Regions from separate parts of the Homo sapiens genome. Here all the other regions are linked to region 1. The links are contacts of gene promoters, found by promoter capture Hi-C in blood cells and fetal thymus (Javierre and others, 2016). All regions are on one chromosome and are shown on one strand. Each heading gives the region's core, a stretch centred on a gene start or on the middle of the fragment in contact. The rest is flanking DNA. Distances are from core to core; before and after follow the strand shown.

What was found. Contacts are between HindIII fragments. The CHiCAGO score rates a contact against its expected background, and 5 or more counts as called.
Region 2: a contact is called between a fragment that was not itself captured here and the fragment with the promoter of LINC03010 in region 1, in 1 of 17 cell types (neutrophils). The highest score is 5.3, in neutrophils.
Region 3: a fragment that was not itself captured here is called in contact with the fragment with the promoter of LINC03010 in region 1 in 5 of 17 cell types (naive B cells, total B cells, naive CD8 T cells and 2 more); the score reaches 6.0 in naive B cells.
Region 4: a contact is called between the fragment with the promoter of RBM33 here and the fragment with the promoter of LINC03010 in region 1, in 2 of 17 cell types (neutrophils and M2 macrophages). The highest score is 6.5, in neutrophils.
Region 5: a fragment that was not itself captured here is called in contact with the fragment with the promoter of LINC03010 in region 1 in 1 of 17 cell types (neutrophils); the score reaches 7.5 in neutrophils.
Region 6: a contact is called between a fragment that was not itself captured here and the fragment with the promoter of LINC03010 in region 1, in 1 of 17 cell types (neutrophils). The highest score is 6.1, in neutrophils.

Annotation. Positions count from the first base shown.
Region 1 is chr7:155,380,653-155,383,446 of GRCh38, reverse strand. LINC03010 (long intergenic non-protein coding RNA 3010) reads right to left here and starts at 1,371. Exons shown (of 3, transcript NR_147174.1): 1 at 1,132-1,371. RefSeq lists enhancers at 502-1,313, 1,314-2,125. The HindIII fragment of the contact is 8,785 bases long and covers 1-2,307 here.
Region 2 is chr7:155,783,324-155,786,113 of GRCh38, reverse strand. No RefSeq gene overlaps it. Among named protein-coding and RNA genes, the nearest start is that of SHH, 28 kb to the left of the region's middle. The HindIII fragment of the contact is 927 bases long and covers 965-1,891 here.
Region 3 is chr7:154,941,776-154,944,656 of GRCh38, reverse strand. PAXIP1 (PAX interacting protein 1) reads left to right here. Exons shown (of 21, transcript NM_007349.4): 21 at 493-967. The coding sequence ends at 508. It overlaps PAXIP1-AS2 (PAXIP1 antisense RNA 2), which reads right to left. Exons shown (of 8, transcript NR_024476.1): 3 at 37-630. Among named protein-coding and RNA genes, the nearest start is that of PAXIP1-AS2, 15 kb to the right of the region's middle. The HindIII fragment of the contact is 212 bases long and covers 1,429-1,640 here.
Region 4 is chr7:155,643,314-155,646,013 of GRCh38, reverse strand. RBM33 (RNA binding motif protein 33) reads right to left here and starts at 1,353. Exons shown (of 18, transcript NM_053043.3): 1 at 1,095-1,353. The coding sequence starts at 1,137. RBM33-DT (RBM33 divergent transcript) reads left to right here and starts at 1,608. Exons shown (of 3, transcript NR_126344.1): 1 at 1,608-1,800; 2 at 2,410-2,546. RefSeq lists a silencer at 1,026-1,535 and an enhancer at 1,460-2,414. The HindIII fragment of the contact is 4,649 bases long and covers 1-1,605 here.
Region 5 is chr7:154,889,866-154,892,951 of GRCh38, reverse strand. DPP6 (dipeptidyl peptidase like 6) reads right to left here. Exons shown (of 26, transcript NM_130797.4): 26 at 1-618. The coding sequence ends at 472. Among named protein-coding and RNA genes, the nearest start is that of PAXIP1-AS2, 37 kb to the left of the region's middle. The HindIII fragment of the contact is 1,152 bases long and covers 1,021-2,172 here.
Region 6 is chr7:155,802,396-155,805,109 of GRCh38, reverse strand. It overlaps SHH (sonic hedgehog signaling molecule), which reads left to right. Exons shown (of 3, transcript NM_000193.4): 3 at 1,384-2,714. The coding sequence ends at 2,210. Among named protein-coding and RNA genes, the nearest start is that of SHH, 8.7 kb to the left of the region's middle. RefSeq lists a silencer at 1-30. The HindIII fragment of the contact is 9,246 bases long and covers 1-2,714 here.

The DNA.
Region 1 (2,794 bases), core at 122-2,621:
TTGCCCATCCTCTGCATAAGGCGTCACTGTCCCTGGGAATATACAGGGATTCTATGCCTGGCCTCGGAAACTGAAATGAAATAAATTTGCACCATGAGAGAGTAGGTCCAACTCTGCACAAATTAAAACAAAACACAACAAAAAATGTTTCAGCCAGAAGTAACATTCGACATGGTCTACCCCCATCAGCTCCTTTTACAGGTGAGGAAGTGGAGGCCTAAAAAGCTGGGAAGACTTGCTCAAGGTTATGCTCAAGGTTACATCCACCTCTTCCTGCAGGGTAGAGGCTGGAGGGTCTCAGAAAGGCTCCCTCCCTCCCTTCCTGCTTCACAGCTGGGGACTGGAGGCCCAGATCCAGACCCAGAAGCTGGAAAGAAATCCCAGGTTGTGAGGCCCGTCCTCCCACTCAGCCCCCAACTCTAGGCCTGGGACCCTCCACAGCCCTCCAGGCACCAGGGGACCAATCGGGATGGAACCAGCCCCTCAAGACCCAGGGCCACTACCTAGCAAGTCCCTCCTTATCTGGGTAGCCTATACCCCCCACCTTGCCTTCCCCAGACCCTGTGCTAGGGACCCCTGCCTCAGGAAGTGAGCCCTACTGAACAGATGGGGGGCGGCATTTGTGGCTCGCGGCCTCTTTCTCTGTCCCTCCCTCCCGGCCTGCCCCCTGCCCTTCGAAGAAATTGAATTCCAAGGAGGAAGAGGGGAGAAAGAACACCCAAACCCCTGCCTTCTCACTGCATAAATACCTAAATCCCGGGTCCTCCAGAGCCTGCCTGGAGCCTGCCAGCCGCTGCCTGCGGTCCTGCCCACAGCCTGAGGTCCCGGCCTGCACCTCCTCATAAGCCCACACTGGCGGTGCCATGCCATGGGCTCCCCTGGGCTCCCTCTGCCGCCCAGCCTGCCCCGCACACTCCACTCGCGCCGCCCGCCCTTTGCTGCAGGACGGGGCCAGCCAGGGCAACTCTCCGCAGCCCAGAGCTCTCGTCCCTTGAATCCTGCCGGTGGAGCAGGGGGCAAGGGGGAGCCAGGCACGCCCAGCCCCGGACCCGCAAGCAGGGACCCTCGGGGCGGCGGTCCGCACAGGGCAGGGGCTGCTGGAGACCCGCGGCCCCCACCCCCGACACTCACCGCGCGGTGCCCAGCGCGCGCCAGGGCTCCCATCAAGTCCTCTCGGAGCCCGCAGCAGGCTCCCACTTCTGTTTTTCTCTGACAGCCATGCAGGCAGCAGGCCTTCAGCCAGGCTCCCCGCCGCGCTTCCACGCACGCACACTCACAGTCACGCTCGTGCACACTCGCACGCACACGCACGCTCACGCTCATGCACACTCACACTCACATTCGTGTACATGTACACATTCACACCCGCATGCACACTCAAACTCACGCTCACGCACACTCACGCTCGTGCACGCGCACGCATACACACGCCCGCGCTCACACGGACACGAGAACTCGCCCCGCTGCGCGCCTGGCTCCCGGGACGCCTGGAGCTGGGGAGCGAGGGCCCCGGACGCCTGTAGCCGCCAGGGGAGGCCGGAGGGGCAGACGGGTGCAGAGAGCAGCCGGAAAGGCAGTGCCCGGCCACCAAGAGGCCGATTACTTGAGGGGCCTGAGGTGTGGAGCCCAGGCCGAAGACCCTGGGTGCGAGAAGGCAGCGGCCAGGAGGCCGCCCTAGAGCCTCGGGAGCGGGCGGGGGAAGGGGGATGTCCACGGAGACCAGAGTTGGTGGCTCTGACCGAGGAGGGCCTCGCGCTCCCCACGCCACTTGGCAGGGCTGGGGACACGCGCCCTCTCCCCCCTCTCCCTGGGGCCGCGCAGGGCTGTACCCGGGCTCTGCCCAGATCCCCTCGGAGCGGAAGATGCAAGTTGGCTTTTGTCTGACCCGGTCAGACAGAGCCGTTCTGTGGGATAAAGGCTTAACGCTCCGTGAACACGCAGAAAAAGCTCCGCGCTGGCCCTCTGACAATCCCATTGTCTCGGGCCTGAGCCCGGCGGTTTGGTCTGAAAGCGCCAAGTTCATGACATTTCAAAGAGCAATGATACTGGGAGAGGGGGGTGGGCAGGGGAGGGAGGGGTGTGCAGGAGAAATACATTCCTAAAATACGAAGTAACAGTATCTGACTCCCTCGCCAGCGCGTTCCTCAGCTCAGCCCCCTGCCCCACCCTCCACGAACCCATTCAGACCGAATCCCCTTCTCCAGCCCCGTGTGGACCCAGAGCCAGGCTGCAAAAGTCAGGATCACCAGGGACTGCGGTTTGGAAGGTGAAGGTGTGAAAAGATGCCCAAGTAGCTGCGTGGAAGCTTCCTGGAATGTCAGCAGAGTGACAGCAGCCGTTTAGCACAAGCTCCCATTGTCTGCACTGCCCCACAAGATAAGAATTTGCCAAAAAGGACTTTAGGTGCCCACATGAGTTTATTTTAAAGAGCTAGAGTGTTACTGTTTTCTTTCATTTGTATTACTGTTCGTACTATATCCTTTAAAAAAAAAACTATTTTCTGAGCCAGGAAGCAAAGGAGCTTCCATTTTTAGTGTTTAATTTGTTTAATGTGCCTCGGCAAAAGCAAATAATTCCTGAGAGAAAGCAGAATCCTCAGGAAATTGAATGTGTTTTGTCTCCAGCGAAGTTTCCCTTGAGTGATTTCGTTTGCTTTCTGTCTCGCCAAGCAGGCTCTGCACTGGGACCTCCAGCAGGCTGGGGCCAGGCTGGGCAGTCTGCAGCCCCTCTCCCCACCTTAGGTGGTGAGGCTTCTCTGATCCTCAGCCCACTGGCCAGGTAAACTGTGCTCCCG
Region 2 (2,790 bases), core at 179-2,678, 400 kb before region 1:
AAATCACAATGAGACACCCCCTCACACTCATTAGGGTGGCTATGACACACACAAAAACAAAGAAACATAAAATAGCACATGTTGGTGAAGATGTGGCGAAATGGAAGAAACCCTTGAGCACTGTTGGTGGGGATGTCAAATGTTGTGGCTGCGGTGGAAAAGAGGATGACAGTTTCTCAAAAATTAAACATAGAACTGCCATGCGACCCAGCATTTCCACGCCCCCATACAGACACAGAAGAATTGGAAGCAGGCTCTTAAAAAGACGTGTGCACACTCATGTTCGTAACAGCATTCGTCATCGTCAAGCATCCCGTGTCCACTGATGGATGAATGGGTAACAAATGCACTGTGTGTTTATAATGGAATATGACTCAGCCTTGAAAAGGAAGGGAATCCTGACACAGGCTGTCACATGATGGACCTTGAGGACATCGTGCCAAGTGAACCAGGCCAGTCACAAAAGGATAAGCACCATAGGATCCCAACCACATGAGGCACTTATTGTCGTCAAATTCAGAGGCAGAAAGTGGAGTGGGGGCGGGGGGTGCTGGGGGCTCAGGAAGGGGATGGGAGTTTGTGTTTCATGGGGACAGAGTGTCAGTTCTGTAAGAGGAAAAGGTTCTGGAGATGGATGGTTGGGACAGCTGTACAGCAGTGTGAACATATGTAATAAAACAGAACTGGACACTGACAGTTAAAATCATATATATTGATGTATAATTTTGATGCTACATGTTTTACATAATTTGATGTTACGTTCTACAATTTTAAAAAAGTCCTTTTTATCAATAGCAATTCTTGTGTTTCTTTTTATTTGTACATTCTTTTTTCTTAATTAGCTAGCGGTTTGTCTATTTCACTGATTTTTTTTTCTAAGGACTGGGATTTTAATCTATTAATTTTGTTAAATAAGTGTTTTCCCTTGATTAAAGACTAATGGGAGAGAAAATTTCAGGAAGCTTCACATGACATCATCTGAACGGCTGTCATCAGAGGCTCCCTGGCAAGGCTGGTGCCATCATCTCAGGGGCACGGCCATCCTGGGAAGCTGAGGCGAAGCCTGCCTTTGGTGACTGAGGTGCACATTGGCAATGTAAGGGCCAGGGAAGAAGCCGAAGCCAGGAGCAGCACTGGAAGGCACACGCCTGTCATCCCAGCCCTTTGGGAGGCCAAGGCAGGCGGATCGCTTGAGCTCAGGAGTTCAAGACCAGCCTGGGCAATGTGGTGAAACCCCATCTCTACAAAAAATACAAAAATTAGCCAGGTGTGGTGGTGCACGCCTGTAATCCTAGCTACTCGGGAGGCTGAGAGGGGAGGTTCTCTTGAGCCCAGGAGGTCAAGTCTGCAGTGAGTCAGGAATGCACCACTGCATTCCAGCCTGGGTGACAGAGAAAGAAAGACCCTGTCTCCAAAAAAATAAGGAGAACAAAACATGGTATCATTCTTCAGACACCATCCACAGATGCTCTCCCTTGATGGTGAGAAAAAATTCTCTCCATTGTCAATTTTAGAGAAAAAACACGACTAGCGTCTGAGATTGAAAACATCCAGGCTAGCTTTCGAAGCTGGGTGAAGAGCTTAGGTGCGGTTTTCATTACACCTCCTCAACAGCAGCTGTTGTTACTTGGAATCAGAGAAGTGCTCCTCTCCGTCTGGTCTGAAGGGCATCTGCCCAGTCCTCTAGTCACCTGCAGTGGGTCGGGAGGTAGGGCTTTCTTTCTGGAGGGGTTTCCTCAGTGTCCAGCTCTGCAGCCTGGTGCGACGACATGTCCAGAATGCCCCACTGACTTTCCTGTCTGGATCTACGTCGGACCCTAGAGAAGAGCCGCAAGGACCTCTGCCCTCTCGCTGCGGCCTGCAGGCAACACCAAAGGTCAGCAAGAAAGCTTCCTTTTTGAGCGTGAAGCTTCAAAACTGCCGTGCTTCTCATTTCTTTTAAGCACACAGCAACGAGCTGCACCTCAAGGTGTACAACACATGGCTCTGTGCTTCTGTTCCTAGAGCCACCAATTGTCAGTACTGTGTGTTTCCTACAGAACTCTTTTATCACTTACTTTTCCCTTCAGACGTGACTGTCACTCTTTCAAAACATGCAAATACATGTTCGAATAAGAAAAGGACCTGGCCGCACACGGTGGCTCACACCTGTAATCCAAGCACTTTGGGTGGCGAAGACAGGCAGATCATTTGGGGCCAGGAGTTCAAGACCAAACTGGACAACATGGTGAAACCCTGTCTCTACTAAAAATATTAAAAATTAGCTGAGCATGGTGGTGCACACCTGTGGTCCCAGCCACTGGGGAAGCTGAGGTGGGAGGATCAGCTGAGCGCAGGAAATCAGGGCTACATTGAGCTGTGATTGCACCACTGCACTCCCGGTGACACAGGCAGAAACCAAGGGTGAGATTTCAGGACTCAGCGGCCATGTTTCAACAGGAATGATCAGTGCCACACACCTGAACCACTTCCAAACCTCCTGTGTCTGGGACGGGGACACCCCTGGGCCTGCCACAAATACACTGCCTCACGTAATTGGTTGCACTAAATAAATACACACCAAGACCTCCAGCATGCCAGGCACTGCTCAGGGGGCAACTATGGGAAATAACAATACCTTCTTCAAAGGATCTACCACTCTTGAGTGTACCCTTAATTCAAAGAAAGCCCCATTTTCTCCCTGAAATGTCAAGGCGTTTTTTGCCCATGTTCTGTAGAGATCCCATTACCCAAAGTACAGGTTTTAAAAACAAGGAATGACTTATTCTTGAACTATGGATTAAAGAGGAA
Region 3 (2,881 bases), core at 285-2,784, 440 kb after region 1:
GCTTTAAAAGTCATACAGGAGACTTATGAGTATTACCTTGGGGGCCTTTTTTCATATCCATAGCTTGATGAATTTTGCCCAAAGTGGACGGTTTAGAATTGCAGAGGTCACTACCTGCTCCTGCAGGTATAAGTAGGAGTCAGCTATTTGTGGTGGGGCTTTGGGGATGTCAGCTCTTGGGGGTTGTGTGTTGTACATGTTAATTTAAAGGACATTTCAGCTATTGCTGGGCCTCAGTTCTGGCCGCATGGTGGATACCTTGCGGAGCTGGCACAGGTGCTGATGTCCCCGGGCTGAGTGAGCCTGTGTGTCGGGGCTGAGGGCCTCCTGTGATGTGGGTATGCAGCAGAGCGACTGGTTTGAATGGGTAAGAAAGAGGCTGTAGCATTCCTTCAAGGGTGTCTCTGAAACTGGATGATGAATGTTGGAACCCTTGGTTTCATGTTTTTCTTTTGCCTTGTGTTTGAAAGTCGTTTTCCTCAACAAGCCTACATATAAGTTTAACTGATGGCGTCTAGGCTGCCGTGCATGTCGACTCCTGCGGTGCGGGGCTGGCTGTCTGGCTGGCGAGGAGCTGCTGCGCTTCCTTCACATGCTCTTGTTTTCCAGCTGCTTTCCTGGGGGATCAGACTGTGAAGCAGGAAGACAGATATAATAAATATACTGCATCTTTTTAAGATGTGCAATTTTATTCTGAGGAAACATAAATTATGTTTTGTATTATATGACTTTAAGAGCCCACATTAGGTTTTATGATTCATTTGCCAGGTTTTTAAATGTTTTCACAAAACTGTTACGGGACTTCAACTAGAAATAAAATGGTGTAAATAAAGACCTTGCTATCTCTAAATTATGGATGTTAAAGATTTGAAATGTTTTGTACTTTGATTATTTTTATTTCTTATACTCTGTTTTCTTTTATATTGATATCTTGCCCACATTTTAAATAAATGTACTTTTGAACTTAGAATTGAGTAATCCTTTATTATTCCACATTTTTTGCATAACTTATAATTTGCATCAAACCGGATCACATTTTAAGTAATTTCAAGACAAAATATTTTCCAGTCAATTTTTACCTCAAGAAATAATTTCTAGAAGCCAGCCATTTTTTTTGTCACCGTAATAAACTCCATCCCAGGCAGGGGTGGATTCAGATTATTTTGCAATCACTAAGCACAGGCGCAACCAGTGAGAACCAGTGACGCTACGGAACTTGCATCCATCCTGCTTCTTTCCAGACCCTGTTGCAGTACACGTCTTGTTGGATCATAGGTGTGATAAAATGGTAGGAGACCGCCTGTTTATTAAAGATGAGCAGGGCAGTAACTGCTAATATCTTTAGATCGTGCTGACCAGTGCTGTCGCAGACATTCAGAGCTGTTTTTTAACCAACATTGTGCCTCAAAATATGTCTATTTTTAAGCTTATATTTTTGTGCTTAAATAAACTTAGATACTGACTTATCTTTGAGTAGATGTAGAACTGACCTTTTCCCCTTGTGTACCACAGGTAGAATTGGTGTTGCTATAAAATATTTTAGATTCTGTAGAATCCTGGCAGTGTGGAAGCATTTCATAAATCAGAATAGAGTTTTCATTTGCAAAGTATTCAAAGTACTTCCCTACTACTTAGAAGCTTGAAGGCAAGTGACAATCATTACAGAATAAATGGGCCTTCTGGGTAGAGTATAATGCGTCTGTTTAATCTTTGGTGGAGACAGGGTGTTTATATAACCAACATACAAATATGACTGATTTGATTAACCTTTCAATTAGTGCTTTTTTTTCTAAAGCTGCCAAGAAATGATCCTTAAAAACTCCAGGAGCTGTCTAAAGCCAACTGGCTTGCACAGCTGTTAAGCATTGATTTGGTGACTAAGAGGGACTTAGATGAACATATAAAAATAAAAAGATTTCAAGTAAATACTTCTTAGAAAAAAATGATTAGATCGGACAAATTATTTCTTACATGAAAATCTCATTTAATCCTATTTTCATCTGGCTCGGTGTCATCTAATAGAAATATAATGGGAACAATGTGTAATTTAAACATTTTTAGTAGCTACAATAAATGTTTTAAAATTAGTTTTAATATGTAGACAATACATCCAAATATTGCTTCTGCCAGAAGTAATCAATATTTTTAGAAATTACTGAGATATTTTTACTGTTTGAGGGATGCCAAGTCTTTAAAATCCAGTGTATATTTTACACTTAGACAACATCTCAATTCTGAAATTTTCATTGGAAGTACTTGATCTGTTTAGATTTCACACCACTTAGAGTTGAAAAAGGATATTATGTATGTTTATATACTCAAATTATTCAAAAGATAGTTAAGTGTCTTCCAATAACTGAATTAATGCCAGTTTTGAAGTTAACATAAAGTGCAATTAAAAAATGGAGGTCCTTCCCTTGCACTAGGTACTTTTCCAGCGTGCAGTGACCAGGGGTGGCTGATCATTGAGAAGATGAACAGCTGTCCATCACCGAGCTGCCACCTCAGTATACCCTGAATTCTGTAACACTGGCAAGTAAGAATGGCAAGCAATGTGAATGCCAATGATGAAGACATAGATAATCCATCCAAATCATCCCAAGATTGTTTCTTTGTGTAGGATAATTAAAAGTATCTACCTGATAGCTCACAAAAAGTGTGTTTTTAATCTATCTGCTAGGTATTGAGAGGAAACTTGGAAGAAATACTGCGTATCCTAGCTCTAGGAGTTTAGTCTCATTAGGAAAAGTTAAACAACATATGTCAATCTAGCAAATATTTGGTAATTTAAGGAAATATTTGAATAGTAATAGCTGCACAACTTTATTTTTAAGAAATATTTTAGCATAGAAAGTTAAATGAAGATAATTGTATCCTCAGC
Region 4 (2,700 bases), core at 104-2,603, 260 kb before region 1:
AACACGCAAACATCATGTATTTAAACTGAAAGAAAAGTGGCATATAGCAAACCAAATTGCCAGAAGCGACATTCCTACACTTAGTCTTTTTTGTTTTTCCATTTTGTCAGGCAAACGTTTTGACAGTTGGGCCAAAATTCCTAAACAGGATGATAACAACGTAACCATCTGCTAGCATTTACTAAAAAATACTTCTCGAGTATACACTAGACTGGCTTTTCAACGTTTCAATGGTAAGAACTAATCCCAAATGCTTTTGTTATCCATATTTTACCATCTTTTCAAAGTTTTCAAAATAATCACTTAAAAAGTCACTTTCAAGTATCTCTCCACGTTTTTAAAACCCCCAGTGATATGTAATTTTACCTGAAAGTAATTTACCTACAATTTTTTAGAGATAGGTGTTTCATCAATACTGTTTATGCTTGCAAACAAGAAAAACTATCCAAAGGAACTGACTCAGTATCTAAACCTTTTGTGTCACGTTTTCACTTTTGGAAGACGCACATAAAACACTAACAGGTTATTAGACAACAAATAAGTTAATTTAAAACAGGGATTTATTGAGACTTTCTCAAGAAATCTCACTTTCCAAACTGGCCTACTGTCGCACATTCCTTCACACAGGTGAATCTTTTCGTTATGTTTTTGTAATGGGCTTCAAATCAATCTAAATCTGTCAGGATGGCCCCACAATCTTAAACACCCACCCTACAGCGACCTGCCCCGCTCTCCCTAAGTGACACTGTCTCGGGGGGTGGGGGGGGCGCTCTCCTACCCATAGGACACCAGGCCGGCTTCGGCACTTAATGCCCGCCAACGCCAGAGATGGGCCTGACACTTAGGCAGCCTTGCAAAGTAGAGGACACACAGAAGTTCACAGGTAAGTACGATCTGCACAGCGGAGAGGAGGAGCGAGAAAGGGAGAATGACAATAGCGAGGGAAGGCGAGGGAGAAAACGGAATAGGCCGAACACAAAGAGAGTCGGAGCCGGGGAGAGCCTCGTCCTCTCCTAAGCGGGGAGGCCCCCCGGCCTACACCCCCGCCCACCGCGGCGCGGTCCTGGCCCCCAGAGTCCGGCTGCCTCACGTACCTCCGGCGCCTGCTCCTCCGCTCGCTCCCAGGGCGGCCGCCATGGCACTCGCGGGGCCCGGCCTTCAGCCTCCCCCACCAAGCCAGCTGGTGGGCCGACGTGCCTGGTCCGGGCCCGGGTACGGGTGACGGAGGACAGAGAAGGGAGGGGGCTGCAGGAGGCAGAGGCGAAGCCGGGCGCTTCGCGGTCCACAGCTGGCCCTTCGCCTCCGCAGGAAGAAAACAACAAACTACCGCAACATGGCCGCGCGCCCGCGCCCGCCGCGGTGCACCCTGGGATGATGGAGGCCGGGAGGCGGGCGGGCGCCGGGGCCTGCCCCCGCCGAGGCCGCAGCAGCCCTGAGGCCGCCGCCGTGTTTCGGGCGGTGGGCGTGCAACGCAAACACGCGGCAGTCACCTCCGCCCGGCTCCTGAAACCCAAATGTTTGAAGCAGGGCGGGGACGACTGCTGGCCATAGGTCGATTCCGGGTTCAGTCGTAAGGCGCTTTGCAGCAGTCGGCAAAGCGAAGCTTTACGGCAGCCCGTCTCCCGTTAGGAGCCGGGGAGGCAAGGTCCAGCGTACGGTCCGGGGGAACCTTAACTGTCGTTTCTGTGCCTGGACAGTAGGTTGGAGAGTGGGGTCTGAATGAGCTACAGTAGTGAACGCCGACGGCTTGTGTTGAGGGCAGGAAAGGGTGCACACAGCTCCGGCAGGTGCTTCCGCGAGGTGAGATGAGTGCCGCGCGCGCCGGGCTAACGTGCACGCGCACTCGTGCGGCGCCCGCGAGCCCTCACTTCCTACAACCCGAGACCCTCCGGACCCGCGACCCCGGACCCCCGTCCCCTTCTCCGCGCCCGGCTGGGCAGCGGGCAGCGCCGGACCCTGATGGGCTCTCGGCCCTTACTGCCCCTGCGCCTTGCGGCCCTGAGAACAAGACGTGAGCAGGACGGATAGCGCCCGGCACTCATGTCTGAGTTTGCATTTTGAGCAGTGAGAAAGGTTAAGAAACGAAATCCTCATACTTGACATAAAGGAAAGGGTGCTGGGTGGTCAGACAGCTGTGGACGAAAGGGCTCAGGGGTTTTGGGGTGTGGGGCCCGGGAAGGCGCATCTGAGTGGTCGCAGTCGGGGAAGGGGGTTGATTAAGTACACACCGGCTGTAAACATTGATTCCATATCGGTCAATGTGGGGCTTAGGTGAGGCGTTCTGACCCAGCAATGAAACTGGAAAGGTAGGCAGGGGCCAGGATTCCGGACTTTGGGACGTTTTTCTGAGTCTATGGGGTCTATTGAAAGATTTTAGAAACAATTTACATGGTAAGATTTGTATTTTAGAAAGGTGACTGATACAACAACGTAGAGGACCCTGCAATGTGGAGAGGCATGAAACTGGAGGTCCAGTGCCGTGAGTTAACAATCAAGACGTCCATACAGGAGATGCATTGGTGGATGGGTGAAGAGATGATAAAACGGTACGTATAATAAAATGCTGGCCGGGCGCGGTGGCTCACGCCTGTAATCCCACCACTTTGGGAGGCTGAGGTGGGTGGATCACGAGGTCAGGAGTTTGAGACCAGCCTGACCAACATGGTGAAACCCCGTCTCTACTAAAAATACAAAAATTAG
Region 5 (3,086 bases), core at 347-2,846, 490 kb after region 1:
CACTGCTAAAACAATGGTGCTGTAACTGCTGCGTCCATGGCACTGCGACGTGAGACAGGGTGTGATGTCCCTAACGGGAACACAGAGGCTAGTGTGGGCGGGTCTCATGCTTCCGCTTGGTGGCTGGAATCTAGGGGCCGGTGTCCTGTGGGCTCGCGTGGGGCCTGCGGCCACCATCCTTTGCTCTGTTCCTTGGGGGAGGGGCCGTGGCGTGCCGGTCTCTCGGGCGCCGGGAGGAGGCGCTGCTGCGGGGACAGCGTTGTCCCTGGTGCCATGGAGGCCGTGAGTGATGACCCCGGGGAAGGAGCTTGTTTCCCAAGCAAAACTGCCTTCCGCATCCGAGACACACATGCTATGGAACACCCGGCCCCGCCCCGCCCCGCCCCTCCGAGGGAAGAGGGAGGGCAGGGAAATCCCTCGGTTGCATCTGGTTGTAGAAAGAGCCACGTTTGTGCTTAGAGCGACCTGAGCTTAGTCCTCCTCCTCGTCCTCTTTCGCTGTGACTGTCAGCAGTTTGTCCTGGATCCTGAAGCATTCCACGAAGAAGTTGATGATGGACCGGTACAGATGCTGTTTGAGGCTGGAGCTGGTAAAGTAATGGCTTTCGTCCGGGTAAATCTGCAAGGAAGGCACGGAGAAATTACTCTCCCAGGTATACGCTCCCCAGGGGACGGGAACGCACAGAAGGTGTGGAGTTTAGTGAAACCTGGGCCCCGTCCGGGGCTGGATTGTAGTTGATGAAGTGGGTTTGCTAACCATGCCACTCCTGATGGAAGTGCCTCTTCCTCCTGGGAGATCTGCCTGGCTGTCCCAGTCAGAGGGGCGCCTCCCCTAGCGTGGACATGCACCACCCATTCGTGAAGCCAACCAGCCTTCAAACACCACCACGCCCCCGGTGCCTGGCCCTCTCCAGGCACAGCAAATGCTCAGTGGGAACTGGGTGAAAACATTGGGAAGCTCTTCATTCAACACTCTACAGTCCGGATCTGCTTGCTTGAATTTGCAACATGGATACAAGCTTAGGGACTACAGAGCCGCAGCCCAAGTTTTCAGGGTGTCAGGCTCTGAAAAGAAATAGAATTTCATGCCTGTAATCCCAGTGCTTTGGCAGGCCGAGGCGGGAGGATCACTTGAGGTCAGGAGTTCGAGACCAGCCTGGCCAACACGGTAAAACCGTGTCTCTACTAAAAATACAAAAATTAGCTGGGCATGGTGGGGCGTGCCTGTAATCCCAGCTACTCGGGAGGCTGAGGTAGGAGAATCACTTGAACCCAGGAGGCGGAGGTTGCTGTGAGCCGAGATCGCGCCATTACACTCCTATGCTCTCTCAGTTACACTCTGAGTGTGGGAAACTCCCGTGGAAGGGCTGCGTGCTGTCCTGGGTGCCCACGGGCCCACCCCACAGATTTTGCGTCCTGGCTACTCCCTGTGTGACTGTGGAGGTTAACTTGCCTGAGCCTCGGATTCCAGGTGTGTCGGGTGGGGAGGATAATCACAGACTCCAGCTCATGACACTTTGTGAGAATTAAACAATCTTATAGCCGTGCCGTGCTTAGAATGAGGCCTGGAATGTGGGCTCATTCGGTCCCAGATGCCAATAGGATGATGGCTAATTATTCTACTGCCAATGCGGTGATGCCACCATCTCCTAGGAGCACCGTGAACCATCTGTGCACGTGCAGGGATTCAAAGCCTGCATCTTATTTTTTTCTTTTCTTTTTCAGACAGGGTCTCACTCTGTCGCCCAGGCTGGAATGCCATGGTGTTACCATAGCTCACTGCAGCCTCAACCTCCTGGGCTCAAGTGATTCTCCCACTTCAGCCTCCTGTGTAGCTGGGACCACAGGTACACATGACTACGTCCGGCTATTTTCTAAAAACTTTTTGTAGAGATGGGGTCTTGCTCTGTTGCCTAGGCTGGTCTCAAACTCCTGAGCTCAAGGCAATCCCCGCACCTCAGCCTCCCAAAGTGCAGGGACTACAGGTGTGAGCCACTGCATCTGGCCCAAAACCTACATCTTTCTATGACACTAGACTGCCTCTTCCTGCCTTCTTTGTATGTTTTTGGAGGGTGAAATTCATCTTTATTTTGAAGTATTTATTAATGCTGTCATTAGGCTATGATATGTCATTAAAACATCAAGTAGTACAAGAGGATATGGGCAGGAAGCTTTCTCCTCCTGCCTCAGGCCCCCGTCTCCCGTGCTCTTACCTGGGGCTGGGCCTGGCTCCAGATGCATGGGGTGTCTGTGAAGGCCTTTGCTGTGCCCACATGTGTGTCCCTGGGTGGGTCCTGCTCCCTGATACCCATGGAGCCTGCAGCGATGCAGGCTGCTCTGTACCTGGGGGGTTCAGCTCGCCCCATATCTTGGGGAGTTGCCCACATGAACACATACACATGGACCTTTGGAGCGTCCATGGTCAGTGTGCTTAACACTGCCATGCAACTGCCACACTTACTTTGAAAAAGTCTGAAATCTGAACGTCTTTCACAAGGGAACTCAAGTGTGGTGTAACCCCGTCCTTCTGCCCCTCTTCATCCACACTGGGGTCCAACTCCCTTCTGGCTGGAGCTCTCCCTGCCTGATCAAGCCCACAGGTGGTCCCTCCCTCCCACAGGCAGGGATGCTGGAGGCCAAGGCAGTGATCAGCCCAGGGCAAGAGCTCTCTGAGGGAGGCAGGGTGCCTGCCTGTCATCTGTCCCCAAGGAGCTCTCCCATTCATTCATGTTGGACCTGAAGAGACCATTGGGTCATACCTGTTCCACCAAAGGAGCAGAAGGCAGGAAGGAAATGGCAGAAGTTTCCAGAGACATCCCTGTGCATTACTGGGAAGAGCCCAGGTTTGAGGCTGCTGGGTCAGCACTTGATGCTGTTGTGGACGGGCCACGGGTTGGTTGTGGGAAAGTGAGTTCAGTTCTGGGAAGGGTACCCCTCTTTCACTACTGCCTAGCTACAGATGGCCCCAGGACATCCTGCTAGTGCGTAGTAACATGTGGTGTTGGTCAGAGGGAAGCAGTGGGGCAAGGCTCAGGGCCCACCAGCACCACTCTCACCAACCCAGAACAACAGTCCCACTCTCCGCAG
Region 6 (2,714 bases), core at 110-2,609, 420 kb before region 1:
CGGATCGCGCCGGGAGAGCGGAGCCGCGGCGCGGGAGCCGCTCATTGGCATTCTGAGCACACGGGCGGGGGCGCGGGGCGCAGCGTGTCAAGCCGGGCCGTGCGACTCGACGACTCGGGCTCGCCAGCGCCCGGGGTCGCATTCCGGGGGGCTACGGAGGGCCTCCAACGGCCAGCCCCGCACTTCATGCCAGAGAAACCGATGAGAAGATTAAAAGCCCCCTGTAATTCCAGCAGGAAGATTCTTTCTGGCAATCTCTATTTGCAAAAAGCATGATCCCGGAGATTGGAATGCAAAGAAGACGGCCCTCCCCGCCCTCCTCCCCGGCCCCCTGCGCTCCGCCCCAACTTCAATTATTGTCCTGGGGACAGTGAGCCTCAGAGAGCGACAGAGGGCTCGAGAAAGCGGGTAGTCAAGGGGCCTTGAGACCCGGCGCTTCCAGCGCTCCGAACAGGCCCCGCCATTTAAAATTCAAATACACATCTTGAGTGCTTGGAAGAGAGGCCTGGCTGTGCAAATAGTGCTTGTGAATTGCACACGGGGTGGGGGGGGGTTGCACCTGAGCAAATAGGGAGGGGGAGGCCCGCGAGCTGGGGAGAGAGTGAGCTGAGAACAGGGAGGGGAGAAAATGGAAGTGTCCCCTTCCAAGAGTGTCTCCTGTTTATCCCAGAAATCACAATGACAATGCTGGGCCCTTTATTGGATTTTAATTAGAAAATCCACACAAGCCTCGGATTTTCACACCTCGGCCAATCTCTGGAATGTTTGTCCAGTTGCTACAACTACTGCAGCTATTTTTCACTCCCCGCCCCCGCCCCTCCGCAGGCCCACGCCGAGGCGCGGCAGGGTGCTGCGGGCAGGCGGGCAGGCGGGCAGGCGGGCCAGGGGTTTCCGCCGCGCAGCCCGGGTGCTGAGTGCGCGAGCAGGCGCCGCGCCCCGCGCCGGGGCGGGAGGGAAGGAGGGTGCGCCCGGCGCCCGCGGGAGCTCAAGGAGGCTTCCTGAGGAATCCAAGTGCAGAGCAAACACCCTCTGGATGGATTCGCGGCGAGGCCGGGTGTGTGCGGAGCTGGGGGTGGGGTTGGAGGAAGGCGGAAGGAAAGAGTGTCACCGGCCTCTGCAGGAAACGCCAGCCAACCTCTGTGACCGCCAGCCCAGACTTAGAGAGTCGTTAAGGAATGTGTCGGAATCCTGTCCCTGGGGCAGTGGGGTTGGGGGAGGGAGGTGTGTGCGGGACCCGCCTGGAATCAATCGCCCCGCCCCGCGCCTTGCGCACCCCTGGCCTAGGAGCGCGGGCACCAAGCGTGCGCCCTCCTCCCCGAGACGCGCCTCCCTCTCGGAACTCAATGCCCTGTCCTCTCTTCTTTCCCTTCTCCTCACCCGCAGAGAACTCGGTGGCGGCCAAATCGGGAGGCTGCTTCCCGGGCTCGGCCACGGTGCACCTGGAGCAGGGCGGCACCAAGCTGGTGAAGGACCTGAGCCCCGGGGACCGCGTGCTGGCGGCGGACGACCAGGGCCGGCTGCTCTACAGCGACTTCCTCACTTTCCTGGACCGCGACGACGGCGCCAAGAAGGTCTTCTACGTGATCGAGACGCGGGAGCCGCGCGAGCGCCTGCTGCTCACCGCCGCGCACCTGCTCTTTGTGGCGCCGCACAACGACTCGGCCACCGGGGAGCCCGAGGCGTCCTCGGGCTCGGGGCCGCCTTCCGGGGGCGCACTGGGGCCTCGGGCGCTGTTCGCCAGCCGCGTGCGCCCGGGCCAGCGCGTGTACGTGGTGGCCGAGCGTGACGGGGACCGCCGGCTCCTGCCCGCCGCTGTGCACAGCGTGACCCTAAGCGAGGAGGCCGCGGGCGCCTACGCGCCGCTCACGGCCCAGGGCACCATTCTCATCAACCGGGTGCTGGCCTCGTGCTACGCGGTCATCGAGGAGCACAGCTGGGCGCACCGGGCCTTCGCGCCCTTCCGCCTGGCGCACGCGCTCCTGGCTGCACTGGCGCCCGCGCGCACGGACCGCGGCGGGGACAGCGGCGGCGGGGACCGCGGGGGCGGCGGCGGCAGAGTAGCCCTAACCGCTCCAGGTGCTGCCGACGCTCCGGGTGCGGGGGCCACCGCGGGCATCCACTGGTACTCGCAGCTGCTCTACCAAATAGGCACCTGGCTCCTGGACAGCGAGGCCCTGCACCCGCTGGGCATGGCGGTCAAGTCCAGCTGAAGCCGGGGGGCCGGGGGAGGGGCGCGGGAGGGGGCGGGGCGGGGCAGCAACAGCAACGCAAAGCAAAAAGACACTCGGAAAAGGCGCACGAACCAGACTGAGTTATAATAAGAATAAGAATAATAAAGTAGGACAGTCCAAAGTAGACTCTAAGGAAACAAGGACCCCGGGAAGTTTTGTTGTTGTGCTTAGTTGATATATATTTTTTGAATTTTTTTGGTTATTGTTTTATTTTGGTTATTTTTTCCTCCTCTCCTGGCTATTTATTTGTTTGGTATGAATAGATGTTTTAAATAATATGAACCGGACCTTCAAGAGCCTTAAATAGTTTGTTTCTTGGATAATTTATTATGATCATGTGAACTGTACTCACGGGGGAAAGATTATTTTGTGAGGCCAAGCAACCTGCTCAGAGTCTATTTTTCTACATGTCCCTCGTCCCGGCTGTCAGAAAGCAAACCTCTGTCCCCGCCATCCCTCCCTTCCATCTCCTGCTTCTCAGCA